Linked DNA regions of Homo sapiens: all the other regions are linked to region 1. Evidence: promoter capture Hi-C in 16 types of primary human blood cells and fetal thymus (Javierre and others, 2016). All regions are on one chromosome and are shown on one strand. The core of a region is centred on a gene start or on the middle of the fragment in contact, and the rest is flanking DNA. Distances in the headings are between cores, read along the strand shown. Region 1 holds the start of FGGY (FGGY carbohydrate kinase domain containing). Region 2 overlaps OMA1 (OMA1 zinc metallopeptidase). Region 3 has its middle 17 kb from the start of CYP2J2. Region 4 overlaps MYSM1 (Myb like, SWIRM and MPN domains 1). Region 5 overlaps MYSM1 (Myb like, SWIRM and MPN domains 1). Region 6 overlaps LOC112268263 (a long non-coding RNA gene). Region 7 overlaps LOC112268263 (a long non-coding RNA gene).

Evidence for each region. Contacts are between HindIII fragments. The CHiCAGO score rates a contact against its expected background, and 5 or more counts as called.
Region 2: a contact is called between a fragment that was not itself captured here and the fragment with the promoter of FGGY in region 1, in 3 of 17 cell types (neutrophils, naive CD8 T cells and non-activated CD4 T cells). The highest score is 5.6, in neutrophils.
Region 3: a fragment that was not itself captured here is called in contact with the fragment with the promoter of FGGY in region 1 in 1 of 17 cell types (M0 macrophages); the score reaches 5.0 in M0 macrophages.
Region 4: a contact is called between a fragment that was not itself captured here and the fragment with the promoter of FGGY in region 1, in 3 of 17 cell types (M0 macrophages, M1 macrophages and M2 macrophages). The highest score is 5.8, in M0 macrophages.
Region 5: a fragment that was not itself captured here is called in contact with the fragment with the promoter of FGGY in region 1 in 6 of 17 cell types (naive B cells, total B cells, total CD8 T cells and 3 more); the score reaches 9.5 in naive B cells.
Region 6: a fragment that was not itself captured here is called in contact with the fragment with the promoter of FGGY in region 1 in 8 of 17 cell types (non-activated CD4 T cells, total CD8 T cells, naive CD8 T cells and 5 more); the score reaches 9.4 in non-activated CD4 T cells.
Region 7: a fragment that was not itself captured here is called in contact with the fragment with the promoter of FGGY in region 1 in 17 of 17 cell types (M0 macrophages, M2 macrophages, naive CD8 T cells and 14 more); the score reaches 20.0 in M0 macrophages.

The regions. Positions count from the first base shown.
Region 1 is chr1:59,295,397-59,298,800 of GRCh38, reverse strand. FGGY (FGGY carbohydrate kinase domain containing) reads right to left here and starts at 1,707. Exons shown (of 16, transcript NM_018291.5): 1 at 1,651-1,707. FGGY-DT (FGGY divergent transcript) reads left to right here and starts at 2,251. Exons shown (of 2, transcript XR_001738089.2): 1 at 2,251-2,432; 2 at 3,037-3,404. RefSeq lists an enhancer at 1-248 and silencers at 1,666-1,755, 1,766-2,305. The HindIII fragment of the contact is 6,368 bases long and covers 1-3,404 here.
Region 2 is chr1:58,535,300-58,538,703 of GRCh38, reverse strand. It overlaps OMA1 (OMA1 zinc metallopeptidase), which reads left to right. Exons shown (of 9, transcript NM_145243.5): 3 at 1,963-2,191. It also overlaps a transcript of DAB1 not described here. Among named protein-coding and RNA genes, the nearest start is that of OMA1, 9.7 kb to the left of the region's middle. The HindIII fragment of the contact is 2,130 bases long and covers 555-2,684 here.
Region 3 is chr1:59,941,741-59,945,144 of GRCh38, reverse strand. It overlaps a transcript of CYP2J2 not described here. Among named protein-coding and RNA genes, the nearest start is that of CYP2J2, 17 kb to the right of the region's middle. The HindIII fragment of the contact is 634 bases long and covers 1,248-1,881 here.
Region 4 is chr1:58,669,934-58,673,337 of GRCh38, reverse strand. It overlaps MYSM1 (Myb like, SWIRM and MPN domains 1), which reads left to right. Exons shown (of 20, transcript NM_001085487.3): 12 at 1,380-1,468. Among named protein-coding and RNA genes, the nearest start is that of MYSM1, 28 kb to the left of the region's middle. The HindIII fragment of the contact is 1,307 bases long and covers 939-2,245 here.
Region 5 is chr1:58,689,694-58,693,097 of GRCh38, reverse strand. It overlaps MYSM1 (Myb like, SWIRM and MPN domains 1), which reads left to right. Exons shown (of 20, transcript NM_001085487.3): 3 at 167-237; 4 at 2,681-2,758; 5 at 2,849-2,872. Among named protein-coding and RNA genes, the nearest start is that of MYSM1, 8.7 kb to the left of the region's middle. The HindIII fragment of the contact is 1,985 bases long and covers 542-2,526 here.
Region 6 is chr1:58,715,908-58,719,311 of GRCh38, reverse strand. It overlaps LOC112268263 (a long non-coding RNA gene), which reads right to left. Exons shown (of 9, transcript XR_007066129.1): 4 at 1,392-1,555; 5 at 564-751. Among named protein-coding and RNA genes, the nearest start is that of MYSM1, 18 kb to the right of the region's middle. The HindIII fragment of the contact is 5,773 bases long and covers 1-3,404 here.
Region 7 is chr1:58,732,012-58,735,415 of GRCh38, reverse strand. The region is part of intron 5 of LOC112268263 (a long non-coding RNA gene); the gene reads right to left. Among named protein-coding and RNA genes, the nearest start is that of MYSM1, 34 kb to the right of the region's middle. The HindIII fragment of the contact is 3,546 bases long and covers 1-3,283 here.

The sequences.
Region 1 (3,404 bases), core at 458-2,957:
AGGTAAGTGATCTCTGTAGCACGTTCTGGTAAAATAATCATTTCAAATCCCCCTGGGGGTGGAGGTAGGGGGTTCCACTCTGGCTAGGAGATTAAGGGCAAGATTCATTACCTCAAATTATTTTAAAAACCAGCTGGTAATTGACTGTGATTTAAACTATTTAAATCAATAAGTGAAAGGTTAGGTAAAGGGAACTATTTAAACTAATAAGTGAAAGGTTAGGGAAAGGGAACCAAATTCCAGGAAAAGCCAAGGCCCACAACAAAAACTAACACAGCCTGGAAGGCCCAGCCTCCTCCCAGTAAACTTATTAATTTTATCCAGAAAGACATGGCTCTCCACCCTCTGGGGTTATGCCCTTCTCCCAGCACACATGTTTTGACTTCCAAATCCAGCCAGGCAGGCTCCCAACCTCCCTCCCCCTCAAAATTGATCTCCAGGCCCAGCTGACCCCCTCTGATCTGTTCCCCCAATCATCCTTAATAACAGTGCTCTGGGCCTCCCACTAGGAGGTCCTCCAAGAGCCAGGCCAGTGGCCATCAGGTCAAGAGCCAAGCATGAGGGCCCCATTAACAGGAGACTCCCAGAAGACCAAGCGGCAGTCATCTGGCTGGAAAATCCAGCAAGCAAGTTAAAAAGGAAAAAAATCAGGACATACACGTGGTGGATCATAGAAAAAAAAGAGGAAAAGCAAGCAAAAACTATACAAAGCAAAACTCTACCATTTAAATAACAGCCACAAAATAAAAGACTTTCCCTTCTTTCATTCTGATTTACAAGTCAAAAGAATAAGCACCTCACCCCTCCTGGTCTCATACTTTAAAATTTAACCTAAGGATTAACTGCTTTTCAGACTTTGGTCATGTCATGACTGACTCTTCGGGGAAGAAATTTGTGTTAAGACACAGAAGTGCTTTAGTGGAAAACAGCCCATGATGAGGGAAATTCACCATTTTGCACCTTGTCAATTTTTTTTTTTTTTTTCTGAGACGCTCTGTCCCCCAGGCTGGAGTGCAGTGGCACGATCTCAGCTCACTGCAAGCTCCGCCTCCTGGGTTCACGCTATTCTCCTGCCTCAGCCTCCCGAGAAGCTGGGACTGCAGGCGCCCGCCACCACGCCCGGCTAATTTTTTGTATTTTTAGTAGAGACGGGGGTTTCACCGTGTTAGCCTGGATGGTCTCGATCTCCTGACCTCGTGATCCACCCGCCTTGGCCTCCCAAAGTGCTGGGATTACAGGCGTGAGCCACCGCGCCCGGCCCCTTGTCAATCTTTAAATAAAAAGGAAACGGCTAAAAATGAAAAGATATCCCTAGGCCTTTCTACTCAGGATAACTGTAACCAAACAGCATTATCTCATCTAAACTCAGCTGTGCCTCAAACATTATCACAAGTGCTGGAAGCGTTTAAATCTACAAGCAACACTAGCCTAAAAATGCCTTCGGTAGCCAGACGTGAATTAAAGGCTCCTCAAATGCCAGGAAAATGTCCTACAAGGGTAAGGGGAGGAGAGAAAGAGTACTGAATACAGATAAGTGGGCACTGATCGGAGAGGAAGCAGCACGGGTTCCAGACACCTAATAGGCAGCCTTGGGGATGCAGTCAAGGCCGACCCTTCCCTTCCCTTCCCTTAAGTGGCCGGACGCCTCACCCAGAAGAGGACACAGGGGACTCAACAACGTCTCGGGAACAACGGCCCGGCGGGTGTGAGACTAAGCGGCCAGGAGGAGGAAGGGGAGGAGGAGGCAGGGGAGGAGGAGGCAACGACTGCGGGAAAGGGGAAGGAAGGGCCGGGCCGGGTTGGAGAAGCCTCTTTCTGGGCGTGCGCGCTAAGAGCCTGCGCACCAGCAAAAGCCCCCAGCGCCCACGTGGGACTGAGAGGAGGGTCACTTACAGTACTTGTCCAATCTGAAATTACATTTTAGCTAGACGGATTCTGCACGTAGCCGCGCCGAACCCCACGGCGCCTGAGCAGGGCGGTCCCGGGGCGGCTACAGCCCCGCCTTGCGCGCGATCCCGCCCCCGCCGGCGCGGCCCCTGTAAAGCGCGGCCCCTGTAAAGCGCGGCCCCTGTAAAGCGCGGCCCCTGTAAAGCGCGGCCCCTGTAAAGCGCGGCCCCTGTAAAGCGCGGCCCCTGTAAAGCGCGGCCCCTGTAAAGCGCGGCCTGATTGGCCCTTTGAACCGGGCGTGGGATTGGCCGTCGCCTGCCCACCCCGCGGCTGCAGCGTTCCCTGGGGCCTAGCCAACCGCGGGCAGGGCTGGGCAAGGCGGGAGGAGCGCGGACCCAAGATCGGCTACGCTGCGTCTGCTCAGGCTGCGAGTTCCCGGCTCTGGGGACTCACCTTGCGGAGCTTACCCAGGCGGACTCTCCGCAGCCCCTGATGGGTGTGTGTGTCAGACCGTTTACTAAACACCAGGACTGTTGTAGGCGACTGTAAGAAATAAGAATATTGCATGGTTACAATTCTTGAATGCTTACCTTGTGTCTTGTTCCTTACTCTACAGAAATTTTCTAATCCCGTGGCGAACCCCCGTACTTCAACGTATGACATTCTGTAAATCTACAAAACAGATGGGTCCCTGCCTTTGAGAAGTTTTTACAATTTAGTGGGTACTGGACACGGACCTAATTTAATTCTCACATGCCTTCCCTTTCTAATAAGCTGCATGTTATGTATCCCTATTCTACAGATGTGGGGAATCCGAAATTTTTAGCTTTTACTGGGACACACAGCTAGCAAGCAACTAAAGCGAGAATTCCAACCTGAGCTCCAATCCGAACTATTTTCATAAAAGGCAGGATCCCAGGCTGAGGGAGTTCGAGGTTTGGGAGACAGTTTAGCAGTCGCTGAGTCCAAACATGTTGTTTTCCTAGAAAAGAAAACTGAGATCCAGGAAAGGGAAGTGATTTTCCAAAGACACACCTGTGAAAGGTAATAATTTCACTGAACGGATCTTAAGTGGCAGGTGCACTAAGATTGTCTGCTATCTTCACAACAACCCCGAAGTAAATAAGTGCTCTTATCTTGGTCTTACAGGTGAGGAGAACAGCCCAGTGAGGCTGAGGCCACACAATTAACCCCAGTCTTTGCACTACAACTCTACCAGGGATCCTGGTTTGGCTCATTTTCTTTCTTCTGCACCATGATTGTTCACCTTTTCATTACCAGCAACATACCCAAAGACCTAGCTATAGACTCGTTGGAATCTGTTACTTAGCAGCTGTGTGAATCAAGTGTTCAATAGGAATAATAAGATGTATTCATCTTACCTTTTCAGAACATTATGAAGAACAAATGTGGTAAGACATATGAAAATGCTTTGTAAAGTGTTAGATGCTTAATACACAGAAGACATTGCTTCCAGATCTGTTTCAACGTACCCCAAGAATGGAATAAGTGGAATA
Region 2 (3,404 bases), core at 370-2,869, 760 kb after region 1:
TATTTATAAAACTGTACTTTTAAAGAAACCTTGCCAGATCCCCTGTCTCCCCCCATTTAGCTCAAAGTGAAGTTTCTAAACAGTAGGTCCTGCCCAATTTTGTTCTGTATGATTTAATAATCTTGAAACAATTTCCTGCATACTAATTTATGGTATAGAAATATCTCTTTAAAAAGTTATTCTTACATTTTGTATAGGCATTAAAAAAATCTTATATTTATGACTACAAAATCTTAGGATATATGGATCAGAAGTGCTGGTTATCACTTATGTATAAGAAGAGTACTTACAAACATTTCTTTTTAATTTGTGGAATTTAAGGCAGCAAATCATAAAATTGAGGAACTTTGCTTATATAAGGGTGGGCTCACTCCTAGTTAACTCTTAAGTCATTAATGCTTCTTTTCTTTCTATTCTGTTCCCAACAAATCTTTGTTTTTTTCCTTGGTGATCCTTTATAATAATATTTTCACAGCTTGTAGTGCTTTAACCCTTTTTCTCTTGTTTGTTTTATGAAGATGGAAGAAAGCTAATCACTGTTTCTTCATAAAGCTTTCTTGTGTTTGATGACTGTGAAGTCCCTTCTAGCCTTCTTACTACCACATGAACCAAACCAGTTTGCTTTTGATCAAAAACCAAGAACTTCTATTTGTAACTTATTGTGTTTTTCATGATTTGGTGTTGGCACCCAAAAGCGATACAGCTGTATTGACTATTGGTTGAAGTAATACGCTCATCCCAGGTTCTTCGGATGCTCTTTCTGATTTCTGCTATGTCCTCATCCTTTTAAATTATTTATTTGTAACTTTCTTGTTTTTGTTACTATTGTTGATCACCTAAAATTTTTCATTTAGAATATGTCTTTCATACATTTTAAATAAAGGATAATGTCATGTAAAGTTTTAAATAGGAAATAAGTATACTCGATAGTTTGATTTATGTCCCTTTAAATGGACACACTTTGTGTAAAGGCATTGGGGTGTGTCACTTCACAAAGAGAACTTTAAGAATTTGTAAAATAAATTTTTGTCAAGAGAATGATGTATATATGGTAAATTTTTGTTGTGATTTTACAGATCAACTCATAAGGAAAATTTTTGTCCCAGTATTGAAAACATTGCTTGTTGTCAAAATGTTTCTGAACACTGCTAAGTGGCAGAGAGTATTGTTGCCTGGTAGAAATTGGACCTTCTCAGATGTTATCTATAAAATCTCCCACTTTCTTATGAATACCTAGGATCTTGTTATCTCTCCTTTTTCACGTTGTAAAGAGGATAGTGGAGTTTCTGCTACTGAGCACTATTTATTTCCAAAATGAATGCTGAGGCAGTTTCCCTTGTACCTTGTGGAATCACTGGCAAATTGTGTTGGAGGTCTGAGGAGCAGTGGGAAAAGTAGTGGTTCCAGGTATAGATTTATTGTACTGTAACCTCTTACATAATTATTTAGGCATTTATCCCTATTAAGTGGCTAAGTGGTCAGACTCTGGAATGTCATTGCCTTCATTGCTTGGTTTTCCTTTTATTACCTCAGTGGCCATGGACAAGTTACCTAACAATTTTATCTTCTGTAACAGGGTTATTATGAAGATTAAATGAGATGGTATATATATATATACAGAGAGAGAGAGAGAGAGAGAGAATTTTGCATGTACTAGATAGTAATAAATATTAACCAGTGGTAGTTATAGTAAACTAGCATCTCATTTAGTGTTTATCCTTAAAATAGCTGAAGAAGAAAATTTCGATGAGTATTAGAATTTTTTAACTGTAACTTTACATCATTGATTATTTTTTCATCATTTAGCTAAGAATTTTATTAATTGGAAAAGCGATGTATTCAGCGAAATACATCATACAAATTCAGGTATTTGAGGACGTAAAATTCTAGTGTATGCATTTGAGCTTTAGTGATATGTGCTGGAATGATTTTCAGAACTTTGAATTTTTCTTTTTGCTTTAGGGGCATAAGGAAATGGTGGCAGGCACTTCCTCCTAACAAGAAGGAAGTAGTTAAAGAAAATATAAGGAAGAATAAATGGAAGCTATTCCTTGGTTTGAGTAGTTTTGGATTGCTCTTTGTGGTGTTTTATTTTACTCACCTGGAAGTAAGTCCAATCACAGGAAGGAGCAAGCTACTATTATTGGGGAAAGAACAGTTCAGACTTTTATCGGAACTGGAATATGAAGCAGTAAGTAGTAAGAGTTGTTTTTAATTAGACTGCTTAATATAACACTCAAAGTAGGAAAGTATCTTAAATGTGAAAGATATGTTGTTTTTTAATTTTAGTCTTTGATATGAAATTAGCATTTTTTTTTCCCGAAGGCCTCAGACCTTTCACACTTAGTATTCCTACTGCCTACATTGCTTTTCCTAGCATTCACCCAGCTAACTCCTGCTCAGCACATTTCACCTTAAATGTCACTTTTCTCAGGAAAACCTTCCTTGATTATCCAGACTGGGTTAGGCAGGGTGACTGGATCAGGCCCTAGGAGGTATCCTTCATACCGACTGAATTATGAACCAGCTCATTTGTAGTTGCGCCCATTGCTTGGCTTTACTGGGGTTAGGTCTCCTAGGCTTTTTTTCTCTGCATACTGTACTTTTCCTTCAAAGCACTCATGAGAGTAACATAATTATTTGCATAATTATTTTTTTGATTGTCTTTCTTGTTAGACTAAGCTTCATGGGGGCAGGGATCTTACCTGTTTTGTTTATGGTTTTAAATACTAACACAGTATGTAAGAGTAGAGCTTAGTATATATTTATTGAATAAATAGATTTATAGTCAGAATTCTTATACCTTGAAAATCAAGTAATATAAGATTTTTTTCCCAAACATCAGTTTTAGCAATTTATTATATTTTTTGAATCCAAATTTAAGTTATAATTTAGAAGTCTTACCTCTTTGGAAAGTATAGTAACTCAGGTAGTTAAACATTTTGTACCCTAGTGAGTTTCTTAGGGACAGAGGTCATTTTCTCTCCAGTTCATAGCACATACACATGTTATGTGCCCTGTGGCTCAATTAATATTTTTCGAATTCATGTCCAGTAGCCTCACTTGACAGCTTTGGCATGGCTGAATCTTTTTTTTTTTTTTTTTTTTGAGACAGAGACTTGCTCTGTCACCCAGGCTGTACTGCAGTGGTGCCATCTTGGCTCACTGCAACCTCCACCTTACAGGTTCAAATTATTCTCCTGCCTCAGCCTCCCGAGTAGCTGGGACTACAGGCGTGCGCCACCACGCCTGGCCAATTTTTGTATTTTTAGTAGAGATGGGGTTTCATCCGTGTTGGCCAGGATGGTCTTGATCTCCTGACCTCGTGATCTGCCCACCTCCTAAAGTGCTGGGATTACAGGCATGAGCCACCATGCCCAGCCGCTTGTTGATTCTTAAGTGAA
Region 3 (3,404 bases), core at 315-2,814, 650 kb before region 1:
ATTTTCTTAATTGTGTCAATTAAGCATGACACAAAGCTGTGAAGCCCCACTCCCCAAAAAAGTTTGATAATTCTGGCTACATTTTAAAAACAAAATTTCTACATGGTAAAAATACTATAGTCAAGGTCAAAGACCAGAAAAAATGTAAAGAAAATACTAGCAACATAAATAATAGATAAATATCTAGTTATCTTAGTGTATTATGGGATATACAAGCCAACAAGAAAAGTATCAACTACCCAATAGAAGAAATCTGGGTGAGGGTCATGATTTCAGAAAAAAAATAAATGCAAATGGCTTTTTTTAAAGTGGCATTTAAAATAATGCAATTAAAATAATGCATTTTTTGAAATTTAAAATTTTTTGACCTTTAAAATAATGTAATTAAAAATAATAAATAATAAAATTGAAACTAAATGTCATTTTTTACTAATCCAACTGGCAAATAACCACAAGCTCTGAATTGGCAAGCAAGGAAGAAACAGATATTCTTGTACGTAGGAAATAGAGACTCTTGGCAAGGAAATCCAGTCATATTTATCGGTATTTAAATGAAAATACCCTTTTGCCCAATAGTTCTCCTTTTATGAATTTGTCCTACAGACATACTCAAGAATTTTTAGGCCAGGCACAGTGGCTCATGCTTGTAATCCCGGTAATTTGGGAGGCCAAGGTGGGCAGATCACTAGAGTCCAGCAGTTCAAGACCAGCCTGTCCAACATGGTGAAACCCCGGCTCTACTAAAAATACAAAAATTAACCAGCCGTGGTGGCGCATGCCTGTAGTCCCAGCTACTTGGCGAGCTGAGGCGGGAGGATCTCTTGAGCCTGGGAAGTTGAAGCTGCAGTAAGCCGAGATCACACCATTGTATTCCAGCCTGGGTGACAAAGTGAGACCCTGTCTCAAAATAAATAAATAAATATGACTACAAACACCTTCTCTGAAGCATTGTTTATAACTTTAGACAGCTAGACACAATACCAATGCTCATTGTATGAGACATTATAGGTAGTCATTTTTTAAACTATAGAAATCTATACATACTTAAACGGCTAAGATATTTTATTAAACTAGAATTGCAAGGCTTAGGATCATATCTCTAGCAAGCAAGCAACAATTTGTACATTAAAGGGGCCACTAAGTATACAAATGCATATATGTATATATGAAGCTACATTTTGAAGGAATTACCTTTAGTTGCTGTCTCCACTTCAACTCCCATTTCTTCAGCATACCACAATCAAGCTTCCTTTCTAGCCACTCAACTGAGATACTCTGAGATCACCAGTGACTTCCACACTGATAACTCCAAGTACCACTTCTCTGTTCTTATCTCATTTTTTCTCCGCAAATTCAACACACTGACCAATCCCTTCTTTTTGAAGATCTTTTCTCTTACATCCTTGGTGATGATGTCGGACTTTCCCTTCTTTCCCTACAACCCTTTGTGGGGGGAAAAAAAAAAAACTGCTTCAGATATTTTCTGCAATACTTTTGAAAGCTCTTGAACTCAGTTATCTTGCTAAACCCAAAATCATGGCATATACTCATCGAACTTGCTAAAATTGACTGTTTCCTTGCTAAACTTCAACTACAGACCATACTTTCCTGGACTTGTTTACCTGTAGCCTGTCTAATTCTGACCACTCGTGCTAATCTCTGCATTGCCCCAACAACATATTCCTCTCTCTCCATCCGTATTTTCTCACAAGAAATCTATGTGCCCAGAAAACATCAGCTAATCACCAGGGGTGAGGACGAGTTGTACTTCCAGGCCCTCCTGCTAGCAGTTATGAAAGGTTTCCTCTCTCTTTCTCCATTCGGCTGGTCTTTATTTCAGGGCTCTTGCTGGCTCCTTCTCCTCTCTTCTACTTCTAAGCTTTGGCAGATCTAAGAGTCTTTCAGTACCTCTTGATTCTCTCTCTATATTCTTCCTAGGTGATTTCGTCCAGTCCTGTGACCTAAAAATACTTCTTCCTAAATCATCAGACCTGAATAATCAGCTTTCTACTTGACACGTCCACTTGGATAACTAATAAATACATCAAATTTAAAATGGCCAGAAGAGAATTCTTTATTGTTCCACTTAAACCTGTTCTCCTTTCATTTTTTTCTCATATCAACAAATAGCACCACCACCCAAAATTGAAACATTAACTATTTTTACTTAGTTGTTAAAAATTAGATACTTTACCTTTAGTTTCTTCATTTTGTAAAACGGGGTTCATAAGAGTACCTACTTCAGAGGATGGTTATGCAGTTAAGTGAGTTACTCTGTGCCCAGCACATAGTAGGTTCTTAAAAGATATGATTGTTATTATCATTATTTTTTATTACTCTCTTCTCATCAACAAGCTCGTTTTAACTCTACTTCCAAAAACATTTCTTGAATTCCATCTGCTTTTCTTCCCTCCCTCTGCTACTGCTAATCTAAGCCAATGCCATCCACCAACCTGTTCACTGCAATGATCTCCTAACCTGTCTCTCCTACTTCTGCTCTCACACCTACAGTCCACAATCTTTAAGGAAATTTAGCAGAAAAAAAAAATCAGATCATGTCACTCCTTGATTAAAAAGCTTCAACGGCTTCTAATCAAACTTAAAATATAAACCAAACTGACCCTGGCTTACACATTCCTTGTCCTACCTGATGTCTATCCTCCAACCCTGAAACATTGCCCCACTCCTCCCTCTCCTTCACACACTCTGCCCCGCCACAGGAATATGCCAAGATTCTTCCCATTTTAGGAGAAGAATCTTTTAGGCGAATCTTTACACTATCTAGTCCTTCTTCATGGAATGCTTCCCCCTCCCCTCAACTATAACTAGCTCTATTTCTGGCTCCTTCTTGGCATTCAGGGGTAAATTGCTATTCCTGCTCACAAGACCCTCCTAGGTCACCAAACCTCAAGCAGACACCAGTCACTTTCTTTCACATAGCTTTATTTTATTTTTCTGGATAATTCTCTGAATTATCTGATTTTTAATTTTTGGTTTATTGGTTTATTATCAGCTGCCTCCAGCCAGAACATAAGTTTCACAAAAAATGTGGTACAAAATACAAAAAATAAAAAAAGGTACCCCTGTATAAGGCACTTATCACGAATGGCGCTTGCAACACTGAACGTTGTTCTGGGTGAGTCAGTGTGTGAGTGGAGAGTGAATGTGAAGACCTAGGACACTACTATACTTGACTGTAGGCTTTATAATTTTTTCCATCAATAATAAATTAATCTTAGCTTACTGTAAGTTTTCTTATTTATAAACTTTTAAATTTGTTGAACTTTTCACTCAATAGCACAGCTTAAAACACATATTGTGCAGCTGTACAAAAATGTTTCATTTCTTTATGTCATTATACATGTTTTTCTATTTTTTATTTTTTTTAAACTTTTAAAACATTT
Region 4 (3,404 bases), core at 343-2,842, 630 kb after region 1:
CTCTAACTCAAGATAAGGGTGTCAAGAAGTTGGTATGCCCAATTCGTTTCATTAAACATTTATTGGAAGAGGTTCTGATATACCAATTAAAATATTGTTCTAAGCATTAGACATTAGACACACATGTGTTCTAAATATATATATTTTTTGTAACAGCTAGTGCAGTAGAATGGATAGAATGTGTGAATGTGTACGTACTGGCTTTGTTACTTTAAGCAACTACTTAATCTCACAGAATCTCATGCTTTTTTAACTTACGAATTGTGAATAATAATAATACCTCCCTCAAAGTATTGTTGTAAGAAAGAAACGAGATAGACTATATAAAGATGCTAGTACTAGGTATTCAGTAAGCCTTGCATGCACAAAGTACTCAAACTTGAGTTCTCTTTCCTCCTCCGCATTCCCTGCCCTCAACTTCTCACCTGAGTACTATTCTAGGCACAGTAATTAGTAATTCATCCTTCCCATAAGGGGCTTGTATTTCTAATAGGAAAGACAAAACCTATGGTAAGTTCAATAAGGTTGGTCCCAAGAATTGTAAGTTTCTCCCAAAGGCTGTGATCAGGGCAGGTTTCGTAGAGTATGTGGGGTATAATCTGATCTGAAGGATCTGCAGAAGAATCTCAAAATGGAGATGAATACACTTTAGGCTGAGGGAACAAAGCTGGAGACATGGGAAAATACTAGATATATTCTGGAAAAGGTGCATAGTTCATTTGGACTAGGGTGTAAGTTGGTCGTAGAAATGGAATAGAGATTTACTTTATTTTATAAACACTTATAAAGGGCTTACTGTGTGTCAGACAATGTCAGTATTTTATAAACATTAACTCAGTCTTCACAATAATACCATGACAGTGGTATTATTGTTTACTTTTTATTATTAATTTTATTGTTCCCATTTTTAAAGATGAGGTAACTGAAGCATGAAAGCTTTAGAATTTGCCTAGGGTCACCAAGCTAGTAAATAACTGGGCCAGACATTCTAGATCCAGAATCTGTTCTTAATCATTACTCTGCACTGTCTCTCAGTTGTGAAAGAAAACTCAACACAGTAGAATATGGTAAGTAGAAATGGGAAATAAAAGACTCAGGTGATTCTGACGTTTTTGAACCTGGGTGACTGGTACCATTGATTGAAATGGGCAAATCAAGAGAAGGAGTAAATTTTCAGTTTGGGATGGCCGTGTCTTTTGAAACAATTTTTTAAAAATACTGTCCAGTCTTTCTACATGTTGGTAGCAAAAAGGAAGCCCATCTATATCAATTTAGTCTCTCTTGTCCTCACATGCCCTTCAATTTGATTTTAAAGGACTATTTTTATTCTGCCTCTTAGTAGATGATGGACTCCTTAATCAATTGGCATTTTGTTTTAGCATCTCTCTGCTGAGGAGTTGGCAAAAAGAAGAGAAGAGGAAAAAGGCAGACCTGTTAAATCTTTAAAAGTGCCAAGACCAACAAAAAGGTGTAGTGTTATATAAATGTGGTTTTTAAACATTTATCACAAATGGCTAGATAATATATGAAAAAATATTCAATAGCTGCATTATATTGTTCACATTAAGTTTAAAAAAATACTGCTACAATTTTTTAGATTTTTTTTGTTTCACTGATTATGAATTTGGAAGACCTTGAACAAACATTTTAAATTTGTTCAGATTCATTGAACATATGATCCAACATATGTTGTAAAGGGGCCCTGTTTAGGACAGGTTGGTCATTCAACTCTAGACGCTATGGACAGGAACCTTCATGAAATGACTGGGTTTTCTTTGGGTGGTACTAATTGTTAGCAAGTTGTTGCATGGTTTGTTGTTTTCTAATGCATGTGTAATCTAAAATTTGAGCCTTTTAAAATTAAGGGTCACCAAATAAGTTAAATGTTCCGATTTTCTATTCCCTCTTCCTGCAGATGCCCCATTGAATAGACTGTAGTTTTGTCAGTGTACCTTTTAAAAGAAGATATCCAGGAATGCCACTAGATCATATTTTTGCCTGATAAATGTCCTCGGGTAATCCTTAGGTTCTCATTTATTAAACAATAATTTAAATAACACTGTTAGCTGTATTTTAAGCACTTTATATTTATTAGCTCATATAGTCTTCATGACAACCCTGTGCATTAGTTAATGTTCTCACTCCCATTTTATAGATGAGGAAACTGAGAGGCATAGAGAGGTTTAATAACTTGCTCACGCTGTCAAGTAGTGGAGCTGTTGATTTTAAACCCAAGTGTTAAGCTTAAGAGTTCATACCCCTAATCATTACAGTATATATTACCTCTCTAAAGTAAAAATAAAACTTACACAGTTGTCGTGAGACTGAATTAGATAAACTATGTAAAAAATAGTCCTCCATAAGCTAGGACTCCTCATCCAGTATCCAGATAATTGATTTTCTGACTCTAAATGTGAGACTTATATTTATTGTGATTTTCAAGTCATTGTTCAAGGTCTTCAGGATCTTTTTGAATCCAGATCCACTTTTCTCATTTTAGCCTTTGTAGCACTGTATCATTAACATTTCAATAAGCTTGCCTTTCCTGCCATTACTCACTGATTGCAATGTTTAATTGAATAAATGTAAACCTCATTGTATATATTTAAACAACGAAGACATTCATTCTTCAATCAGCTATATAGATTACCACAATTAACGCATATATCTTCATCTTATACAGAAGGATAATCATATCGGATGTCTTGTTTAATTTCAGATAAAATATATTTAAGTCTTTAGTTTCTAACAGATTATTCCTATCAATAGTGTCTACAATAAGGTCTACTTATCATGACTTTTCATGAACTCATTATTTTACTTAGTCACCTCTTCACTTGGTTAAGGATCACAAATCAGCTGTTTCATAATTTTTTCTAGAATTTTACTACTGTTCAACATCTAGTTCCTCCTTTTCTGCAGTCTGCTTTTTTGTATTGTGAAACAAGCTCAATAATTGTCTATTTCTAGTCCTTCAGCAACTTTCCCATTCTCTGCAGTTCCTCAACAAACACTGACAGCGGTTCCATATCCGTGGTTCTTAAGTACTCCAGGATGTTCTTTCTGTGCTATTTTCTCATCTATCTTGGCCTTCAGTTTCTTTTTGTGTTGATTAAACACTTTCTAATTTAAAGGTCTTTCTTTATTCAACAAGTATCTTTGAATGTGTACTGTATATGTCAGGCACGGTTCTGATCACTTGGGATACATTATTAAGCAAAACAAAATGTTCTCTTGAAGCTAACCATCTATGGTTGAATGGAAATGGAATTGCCCTGCTCTCTTCCAGTTGTGTTAATGCGAATGTATTCCTGTGTGTTTTTCTTTCCCTGAAGATAGCCTAAAAAACCTTTTTATTGTTCTTAATATAGTTCTCAAGCCTCAATTCTTTACTGACATTTCTG
Region 5 (3,404 bases), core at 285-2,784, 610 kb after region 1:
TAATGCCTATCTCAATGTTACTGTGGTAATCAAAAATATGTCTGTGTGCTCAGTAAATGGTGACTGTCATTTATAATCATTATAACATGTATTTTTCTTTACCAAAACAGAAGATAATTTCAAAAAGCAATAAATAAAAAGACAAATATATTCTCTTTTTTAATAGCCTTGGACCTTGGATAACACCATCAGTGAAGAGAACAGAGCTGTTATTGAGAAAATGTTGTTGGAAGAAGAGTATCCTTTAATGATTATGAGGAAAGTACAGGTTTCAGGGTGAAAAAAATCTATAAATGCAAAATTTACAAGAGGCCACTGTTTACTAGATGGATTTTATACAGCACCAGACTGCTATTATATAATTTCATGTTACCTATGTATGCAAAAAGCAGCATTTTCTTCCTCAGGTTCTGTTTTACTGTAACATCTGAGATCTGATTGCATATTTTGAGTTTCTGTCACTAGCCAACTGTTTATGATATCTGAATATTGAGTAGAAATGATAGAATATTTAAGTCATTTTGAACCTTAAGTCCAAGCTTGCATTTTTAAGTTATATAAGCTGAAACCCAGAGATGTTAATTTTCCAAGGGCACAGAGTTGGAACATGTAAAAGTTCTTCTCACTTCATAATTTACAGGTGTTACGTGGGAGGAATCTAAATAAAAAGCACAAAACAAATACTATAGAATGAAGATGTTTTCCCTACATTTGTGGATCCTTATTTATAGCTCAGTTTTCGTACATGTAAAAGGAGAGGATTGAATGAAATGATTTCTGATTTTATGATTTATAAAGATAGCTAGTCATAGTCTAATAAGTAGTGGTTTATTAATCTCCTTCATCTTCATTTTATGGATTTCTCCTTACTAAGCCAGAATTTCTCTGTTCCCACTATTTCCACTTATTGCCATGTTGATTTTAGAGTGTCTCTGTACCTTTAATTATCATAGGTTAACCCCATTTAGGCTTTCTTATTCTCTAATTCTCCCCAGACATTGCAGTTATAGCCTAGATTATTGCTATTCAGAGAAAGTCACATATAATTTAAAATTTTCCGATATCCTCATTTAACACAAAGGAAATTAATTTTAACTATATATTATATAACCTAAAATATTTAAAATATTCTCATTTTAACATTTAATCAAGATAAAAACATTAATGAGATAATTTTACATTTTTGTACTAAGTCTTTGAAATCCACTGTGTTTTGTTTTGTTTGTTTTTTGAGACGGAATCTCGCCTTGTCACCCAGGCTGGAGTGCAATGGTGCGATCTTGGCTCACTGCAACCTCTGCCTCCCTGGTTCAAGCGATTCTCCTGCCTCAGCCTCCTGAGTAGCTGGGATTATGGGCGCACACCACCACACCTGGCTGATTTTTTGTATCTTTAGTAGAGATGGGGTTTCACCATGTTGGCCAGGCTGGTCTTGAACTCCTGACCTCGGGATCTACCTGCTTCGGCCTCCCAAAGTGCTGGGATTACAGGTGTGAGCCACTGCGCCCGGCCAAAATCCACTGTGTTTTATACTTAGAGTACATCCTAGTTCATGCAAATAGTGTTTCCACTGGTCAGAAACCAGCGATGCACATGTGGTTGGTGGCCACTGTCTAGATAAAACACTTAAGTAGTCAGTGGTTCACTTCTAGATATGGAAACAAATAATGAGAGTATCTTTGTTCTCAGCATCTATACCTAGCATAGTACCTGACATATGCAGTAGATAGCCAATAAATACTTGTTAAGTGAAGAATATCTCAGGCTAATCTTAAAGTACTTCATCAGGCTAGTTTTTTGTTTTTGTTTTTTTTTTTTGAGACGGAGTCTCGCTCTGTCGCCCAGGCTGGAGTGCAGTGGCTCAAACTTGGCTCACTGCAAGCTCCGCCTTCCAGGTTCACTCCATTCTCCTGCCTCAGCCTTCTGAGTAGCTGGGACTACAGGCGCCCGCCACCACGCCTGGCTAATTTTTTCTGTTTTTTAGTAGAGATGGGGTTTCACCGTGTTAGCCAGGATGGTCTCGATCTCCTAACCTTGTGATCCGCCTGCCTCGGCCTTCCAAAGTGCTGGGATTACAGGTGTGAGCCACCGCGCCTGGCCTCATCAGGCTAGTTCTAATAACTTTAAGAGGGAAGTTCTCTGGTAGATTTGATCTAAATGTTTGCAATTTTTATTAAGGTAGAGAAGATCCTTGGATTCTTCTCTGTTGGCTTTAGAAATGTGGAAAATTATTCCCGAATTGCCTTGGACAACCAACCAAGTTTACCTATTACATTCTCCATATGTTTTGGAAGAAAATATTTAAACCAGGGTGTCCAGTCTTTTGGCTTCCCTGGGCCACACTGGAAGAAGAATTTTCTTGGGCCCCACATAAAATACACTAATGATAGCTGATGAGCCAAAAAAAAAAAAAAAAATCACAAAATAATCTCATGGTGTTTTAAGAAAGTTTACGAATTTGTGTTGGGCCACATTTGAAGCCGTCCTGGGCCACATGTAGCCTGCAGGCAGAGGATTGGACAAGCTTGATTTAAACATGGAGGCTGTTTCTTGTAGTCACTTCTAATTGGGAAGACAAGGGAACTATTAATAACATTTATGTAGCACACGTTTTGTATAAGTAATGTAAAAATTACATGACTGTAATATTGTTTAAAAAGTTTCCTTGATAGTTACACAGATATTATTTATCTAAAAAATCACAACCGGAAAAAGTCTGGCTTGATCAAAAGGAAGATGATAAAAAATACATGAAGAGGTAAAATCAATTTATAATATTTCTAAAAGTCTGGATTGTAGTTTTAGAAACCTCACACGCTTCCTTATTTTCTTTTTTCATGTGATGCAGTCTGCAGAAAACAGCAAAAATCATGTATGTACTTATATTTTATATTTATAAATCTGTTTTCATTAGTTAAAAATTATGGAATAATTTTTTTTTAATTATAGTTGGCCTGTGGAAAAGCCCTCTTGACCTTAAAGTAGATATAAAAACAGTTTTTTTAATAAAGATGTTGGAGTGGCACAAGTATAATTTTATGGTGTTATTTACTTGCCAGAATTTCTTTCATGGCCCTATGTAGGCAATTCTTTCAGATTGTGAAAAATATGGTTGTCCAGGGGTTTATGGGGAAATTTTGAGAAGCTGTTATGTGATATATTGGAATTGACTTGATTTCTTTTACTCTGTCAGTTAATTTTCACTTATTTTCAACAAAATTTTCATTTGGATTTGTGGCTTTCAAAAATTATCTGGAGAAATTAACTATTTTAAAAATATCCTTTCCCTATAATTGAAAAAACATTATTTAGCATTTATGACTTTGGAAGTTTATGGTCCTTTAAAGGGTGGTTTACGTATTTGCAATTGCCCAAGAGGTTGAGTACTGAGCAGCCTTTTGCTT
Region 6 (3,404 bases), core at 400-2,899, 580 kb after region 1:
GATATTTTGATGGCAGAAATTAAATCATTTAGAAATTGCTATAAGAAAGTAAGAAGTGTTAATATCTTTTCATAATGCACTATTTGGTTCACAAAATATTTTTAACTGCCTTATTTTATGTAATTCTTGAAGCAACATAGCAAATGAAGCATTATTCTCCACTCTCCTGTGACTACCCAGTGGGTCAGGACCATATCTTCAGTTCAGGGCCTGGCATTCAAGGGTGTTACATTATTAATAAACGAATGAGCAAATGCTTGGATAAGTGGAAAGTGTGATTCCCCATTTTCAGGATGCTAAAAACAGTTCAATGGAGTTAAGCGGCTTGATCCAGGAAATACAGTTTGTAGGTGGTGAAGACAAACAGCTATGTCCTCTGAGTTGACATTTCGCTTTGGATTTTACCAAAAATGAAAGGAGGCAAGAGAAAGACGGAAGAAAGGAGAGAGAAAGCTAAGGGGGAACTAAAGAAAAAGAAAAGAGTTAGTAAGCAGAGAGCTTGCCATTTTTCTGGGATATATCATTTGAAGGGAAGGAAACAAGTGCACACAGGATTTCCTCACCTCCAAGTCCTCAGGATGTAGCATGGCTGATGCAGCAAAGATTCTCAAAGACTTGGCATCTTTCCAGAGGCAAAGCACACCAGAGCAGGCACTTGCACCCGTGGCCATCTGAACTCCAGAGCTGCTTCAAATCACTTTCTCACTGGCAGATTCTTGACACTGATACTCTCTCTGGGTCATGGATACTCCTGTAAATGCAGATCATTAAAAAACCCAGACCAGCAAAGCTGATTGTGTTTACCGGGAGCAGAAAGGGGTGTTCTTTTCCCTCAAGTCATTCTTATGTGATTTTAAACTTTCCTGCTTGCACAACCTGAAGGGAAATCATTAGACTCAAGTTGTTATTTGGTTTTATTTATTTTTAAAATCATTCTGCAGCTTTAGAGTCCGTCTGTTCTACTCATTTAGCAGAGGAGGATGTGGGCAGGGCCAGATGATCTCAGATATAAAGTGAGATGCAAGAGTGTGATATTTATCTCAGGCTGAGGCTGACTGCAAAGGGCCATGATGGCCAGAAATGACAGAGCCCTCCTCCCTGCGCTACACAGCAGGGGCTGGTCCCCTGTGACCTTCTTAGGCACAACTCATTGCAGAGCTGGACCCTCACTTGAGTGGGGGCTGCTATGAACACTGACCTACAATGGCTGTTAAGGTCAAAGCCAGAGGAGGTTTGTATGCAGCACTGCTGAGAAAGACTGTTACCTGAGGCAGTGATACTTGTTAACCAGACCCCAGGCGAGCCCTTTCCACTTAGGATGTCATTATTTCATTTTGTCTCATACCATTTCGTCTTTCCAACAGCCTTCTGAAGTAGAGGTTCTTACCTACCATTACAGATGGTGAAACTGAGGCTGGAGAAGATGAGGACCTTCTAAAGGCACATGGCTAATAAATGGCACAGCCAGAGCTCCAGCCTGTTCACGTTCCACTCCACCATTCACTGTTCATGCCAGTGAACATCACCTTTTTCTTTCTGAGAATCCACCTAAGTTCTTAAATTAGAACAAGCCGTGATCAGACAAAATGGAAATAAAGATGAAATCCCTGCTGTAGAATGTAAGGGTGGGTGTGGGTCTACAGGCTGTCCTGGGAAGGGCCTCAGATGACTCTGTGCTCCCTCCCCCAGGCCCAGGCAGTCTCAGCCCCAGGCCAGGATGGGAAGATACAGAGGCCCAAGGAAAAAGGGGAAAGGGGCCCTTGCTCTGGGGCTAATGAGGTGTAACCACTGCACCCCCAGGCGACAGAGCCTTCCAACATCTCTGGCTCCTTTTATGCCAGATTCAAGCTAATGCTGAAAAATCCAAGTGGTCATATTATATTTTCAAAGGCTTAGTCGGATCAGTAAGAAGAATGCCCTGGAATCTTCACTGATGCAGTGAGGTCTGTTTCCAAGACATGGGGCCTAGAAGCCAAGAATCTCACTGAATCTCATCTGGGCTGCTTAACAGGGGAAAATCACAGCAAGTTCAAGGTGTTGGTGACTGTGATGGAAATGGGCTTCAGTGAGCATGAAATTAAATCAAATAAAAGCGTGGAAAACCTTGAAAAATCCCTTCCCATCTTAAATGAAAACACAGAAAATGTATATGAATAATTCCTTGATGTCCAGTTTTTTCTTCCAAAGTAAATCCCTCGAAGGGTTAGAACAGTTAGGGACAGCATGTGGCCTTCAAAACACACCCTCATATGTAAATAATTAACACAATATCTGTACTTTCAAAATTATTTTTACTATCATATTTTACCTAAACAATGACTTTCTAAAAACAGTTCTTGGCTTTCTCATAAATGTGATAGAAAACAACCTGTGGCATGGAGTTTATACGTAAAACACATTGTGGAAGACCTTCTACACTTTAAGTCCTCAAGTCAGAATAAACAAAAAGATGGCAATATGAGATTTTTGTTGATGCTCTTAGTAGGTCTATTTTATTATATTATGCAGGGTTCTAAAATAGATGATGAGATTCTCATCCTATGAAATGTCCTATGTCTGAGGTAGGACATTAGGAGCTGTGTCAAAATAGGTAAAGATAGAGACCTTGATGTGGCTTGGATGCAGTCTGTGTCCCCACCCAAATCTCATGTTCAATTGTAATCCTCAGTGTTGGAGGTGGGGCCTGGTGGGAGGTGATTGGATCATAGGGGCAGTTTCTAATGGTTTAATGCCATCCCCCCATCCCGGGTGCTGTTCTCAGGCTGTTGACTGAATTATCAAGAGATCTGGTTGTTTAAAAGTGTGCAGCACCTTCCCACCCCCACCTTCCTCCTACTGCAGCCATGTAAGATGTGCCTGCTTCCGTTTCACTTTCTGCCATGATTGTAAGTTTCCTGAGGCCTCCTCATTCATGCTTCCTATACTGCCTGTGGAAATGTGAGCCAATTAAACCACTTTTCTTCATAAATTACCCAGTCTCAGGTAGCTCTTTATTACAATGCAAGAGCAGACTAATACAGACCTGTTCAGTTTAATTCAACAAATATTTGTTGAACACATATGAATCATATATGTATGAAGAATTGTACCAAGTGTGAGAAAGAGCCAAAGTTGAACAAGTCGGATCCCTGCCTTCAGAACCCAAAATCAGGTGGGAGAAATAACTTTAAGCTACATATTTTCTCACATCTCTGGAACTAGGATGCATCTTACAATTGACACCGTGTCAAAACATAATTGGCAGACCTTTTTTGTCTTTTAGGGGCACATAAAATAATGGAGTCACTTACTATCCATTACAATGCAATTTAAGTTTGATTAAATATGGCAGTTATTACATAAGACAAGAGACAGACAATGCTAAAGTAAAGAGGTTTGAAATTCCCGTTCAAACCCAAAAGCAC
Region 7 (3,404 bases), core at 261-2,760, 560 kb after region 1:
TATTTTTAGTAGAGATGGGGTTTTTCCATGTTGGTCAGGCTGGTCTCGAACTCCTGACCTCAGGTGATCCACCCAACTCGGCCTCCCAAAGTGCTGGGATTACAGGCGTGAGCCACCGTGCCCGGCAGTAGTTACTATTTTAAGTGGTGATATGGTTTGGATCTCTGTTCCTGCCCAAATCTCGTGCTGAATAGCAATCCTCAGTGTTGGAGGTGGTTGGATCATGGGGGTGAAATTCTCATGAATGGTTTAGCACCATCCTCCCTTGGTACTGTGTAGTGAGCCAGTGAGTTATCATGGGATCTGGTTGTGTAATGGTGTGTAGCACCTCTCCCCTCTCTCTCTTGCTCCTTCTCTGACCATGTAAGACATCCCTGCTTCCCTTTCACCTTCGACCATGATTAAAAGTTTCCTGAGGCCTCCCTGGAAACTGAGCAGATGCCAGCATCATGCTTCCTTTACAGCCTGTGAAACCATGAGCCAATTAAACCCTCTTTTCCTTATAAATTACCCAGTCTCAGGTATTTCTTTATAGCAATGCAAGAACAAACTAATACAAGTGGTATGGGATGGTTGATGAGTGGAGTCTCCAAGAATCTATTAAAGAGAAGAGGGTGAGTGGCAAGCAGGCCTGAACAGATCTTGGAGAAACTGGGATATGAACTAATGACTTGGCATTTATTCTATGGGCCAAGAAATTATAAACTTTCCCACTGAAACACCTCTTATGGCGGAAAGAGCAAACTTGTGCTGCTAAGGTAATATGTTTGGATCTGTGTTCCCTCTGCAAATCTCATGTTGAGCTGTGATCCCCAATGTTGGAGGTGGAGCCTGGTGGGAGGTGATTGATCATAGGGACAATTTCTCATGAATGTTTTAGTACTGTCCCCTTGGTACTGTCCTCAGGACAGTGAGTGAATTCTCATGAGATCTGGTGGTTTCAAAGTGTGTGGCACCTCCCCCTTCCCTCTCTCTTGCTCCTGCTTTTGCCATGTGAAGTGCCTGCTCCCTCTTTGCCTTCTGCCATGATGAAAATCTCCCTGAGGACTCCCCGGAAGCAGATGCCACCATGCTTCCAGTACAGCCTGCAGAACTGTGAGCCAATTAAACCTCTTTTCTTGTAAATTACCCTGTCTCAGGCATTTCTTTATAGTAATATGAGTATGAACTAATATGCAAGGGTTCTGACACCAACTGCTACAACTAAAAAAAAATTCTTTGAAATATTTCAGCCCATCCAAATTTTTCATCTTGGCTATAATATATTCATTTGTTTTCATGTAAAATGATGTTTTTAGTTACTAGCCATCACGTAAAATTAGCATTTTAAAGTGATATTATGTTTAGCTTATGGCTCTGGGACCTGGTCACATACAACAGTTTGGGGAGCACAACCTGAGACAACATGAAGATATTGAACGGCTTTGAGGAACAAAGTAAAATCCAGAAGTTGCTTTTCTGAATTATCTCTGAGCTGCTGTGTAAAAGCGGGGAGATTTGTTTGAAGGCTACTATAACAATCCAAGCGAAACATGATGAGACACTGAAGGCAGACCCTGGCAGGGAGTATGAGAAGAAAGGAACCAATACAGGGAATGAAGAGAGCTTGGGCAAGTCCCTTCACTCCAGAACTCAGCAGAATAAACAGGTTGAACCATATGACAGACAAGGCCCTCCCCAGCCCAAAGATATTGTCACTTTTCTCTGCTTATCTTTACTTTCCCTTATGCTTGCCTCTTAATCTATTATAAGTATTCATAGTTTATTTCACTCAAAAGCCAGCTAAGGGACTTTAGCTGCTAGTTTTGCCAATGAGACAAAATTGTACAGACTTGTTTGTTTTACCTGTTAATATCCCAAGGAACTGTTGTTCTGCGGGACACTCTTTTTTATTTATTTATTAATTTTTTGAGACGGAGTCTTACTCTGTCGCCCAGTCTGGAGTGCAGTGGCGTGATCTCGGCTCACTGCGAGCTCTGCCTCCCGGGTTCACGACATTCTCCTGCCTCAGCCTCCCGAGTAGCTGGGACTACAGGCGCCCGCCACCACACCTGGCTAATTTTTTGTATTTTTTAGTAGAGACGGGGTTTCACTGTGTTAGCCAGGATGGTCTCAATCTCCTGACCTCATAATCCGCCCACCTCGGCTTCCCAAAGTGCTGGGATTACAGGCGTGAGCCACCGCACCTGGCCTCTCAGACTTGTTTGTTTTAAAGGAGGAGAGGAAGTTCTAGATATAAGCAGAGATTTTTTTTTCTTTTTTTTTTTTTTTTTTGAGACAGTGTCTCACTCTGTCACCCAGGCTGCGGTACAGTGGCACAATCTCGGCTCACTGCAACCTCCGCCTCCCTGGTCCAAGCGATTCTCCTGCCTCCCAAGTAGCTGGAATTACAGGCATGTGCCACTGCACCTGGCTAACTTTTGTATTTTTAGGAGAGACGGGGTTTCACCATGTTGGCCAGACTAGTTTCGAACTCCTGACCTCAAGTGTTCCACCTGCCTTGCCTTCCCAAAGTGCTGGGATTACAGGCACGAGCCACTGAGCCCAGCCTATGCAGTGATATTTTGACATAGGATTTGAGTAATTTCCAATTCCAGTTTTGTAACATGTTACCTGACATGTAAAGGCACTCAATAAATAACTGTTGAATTACCGAAGTAATGAATGACGAGTTACGTATTTCAATGCATTCAAAACTTCTTATGGGAAGTCTTCCCTTACATTATCTGTGCAACTTGACCTCATCTTGGCCCTTCTGCCATAATGCAAGGCCTTGTGCTTATGCTGTTGTCTCTGCTTAAAATGCCCTTTGTCTCGTAACCCATCTGGAAAATGTCTACTCACTTGTCATAACTCAGTTCTCACATATATTGTTAGAGAACAGTGTAACTATGTAAAATGAACATAGGCATTAGAGTTGCAAAGACCTAGGTTCACATCCAGGCTCTCACACATACAATGGGAAGCTGTCCCAAGAGTTCTTTCTGTTAACTTTTGGTTTACTAAGTGATAAGGAAAACAAGAAAAACTGTTTTACCAAATCCAGTCATCATTTTCCATGGCTGTGAATCATATTTCTGCAGGCAGTCCAACCTAGTAATAGACAAAGCCTCATATTTGGCTTTGCTCAATGTCTTAAACTGCTGCCAAGTAGAAACATGGCCATGAGTTGAATAGCAAACGTATCTGATGGCATTAAAATCTCAGCTATAACTGGATGCACCAGAACTTTCACTTCATTCAATTTCTGGATTTCAACCAGGTCAAACATGTTGACTAAGCTTGGGCATTGCTGTGCTGCAGGCGTCCATACTTTAAGTTTGGGGTTGACCAAAACTGGGCAAGTTCAGTGAGGCATTCATGGCAAGACTGTGGGAAACCAATTGGAAGGGTGGAGCCCCTCA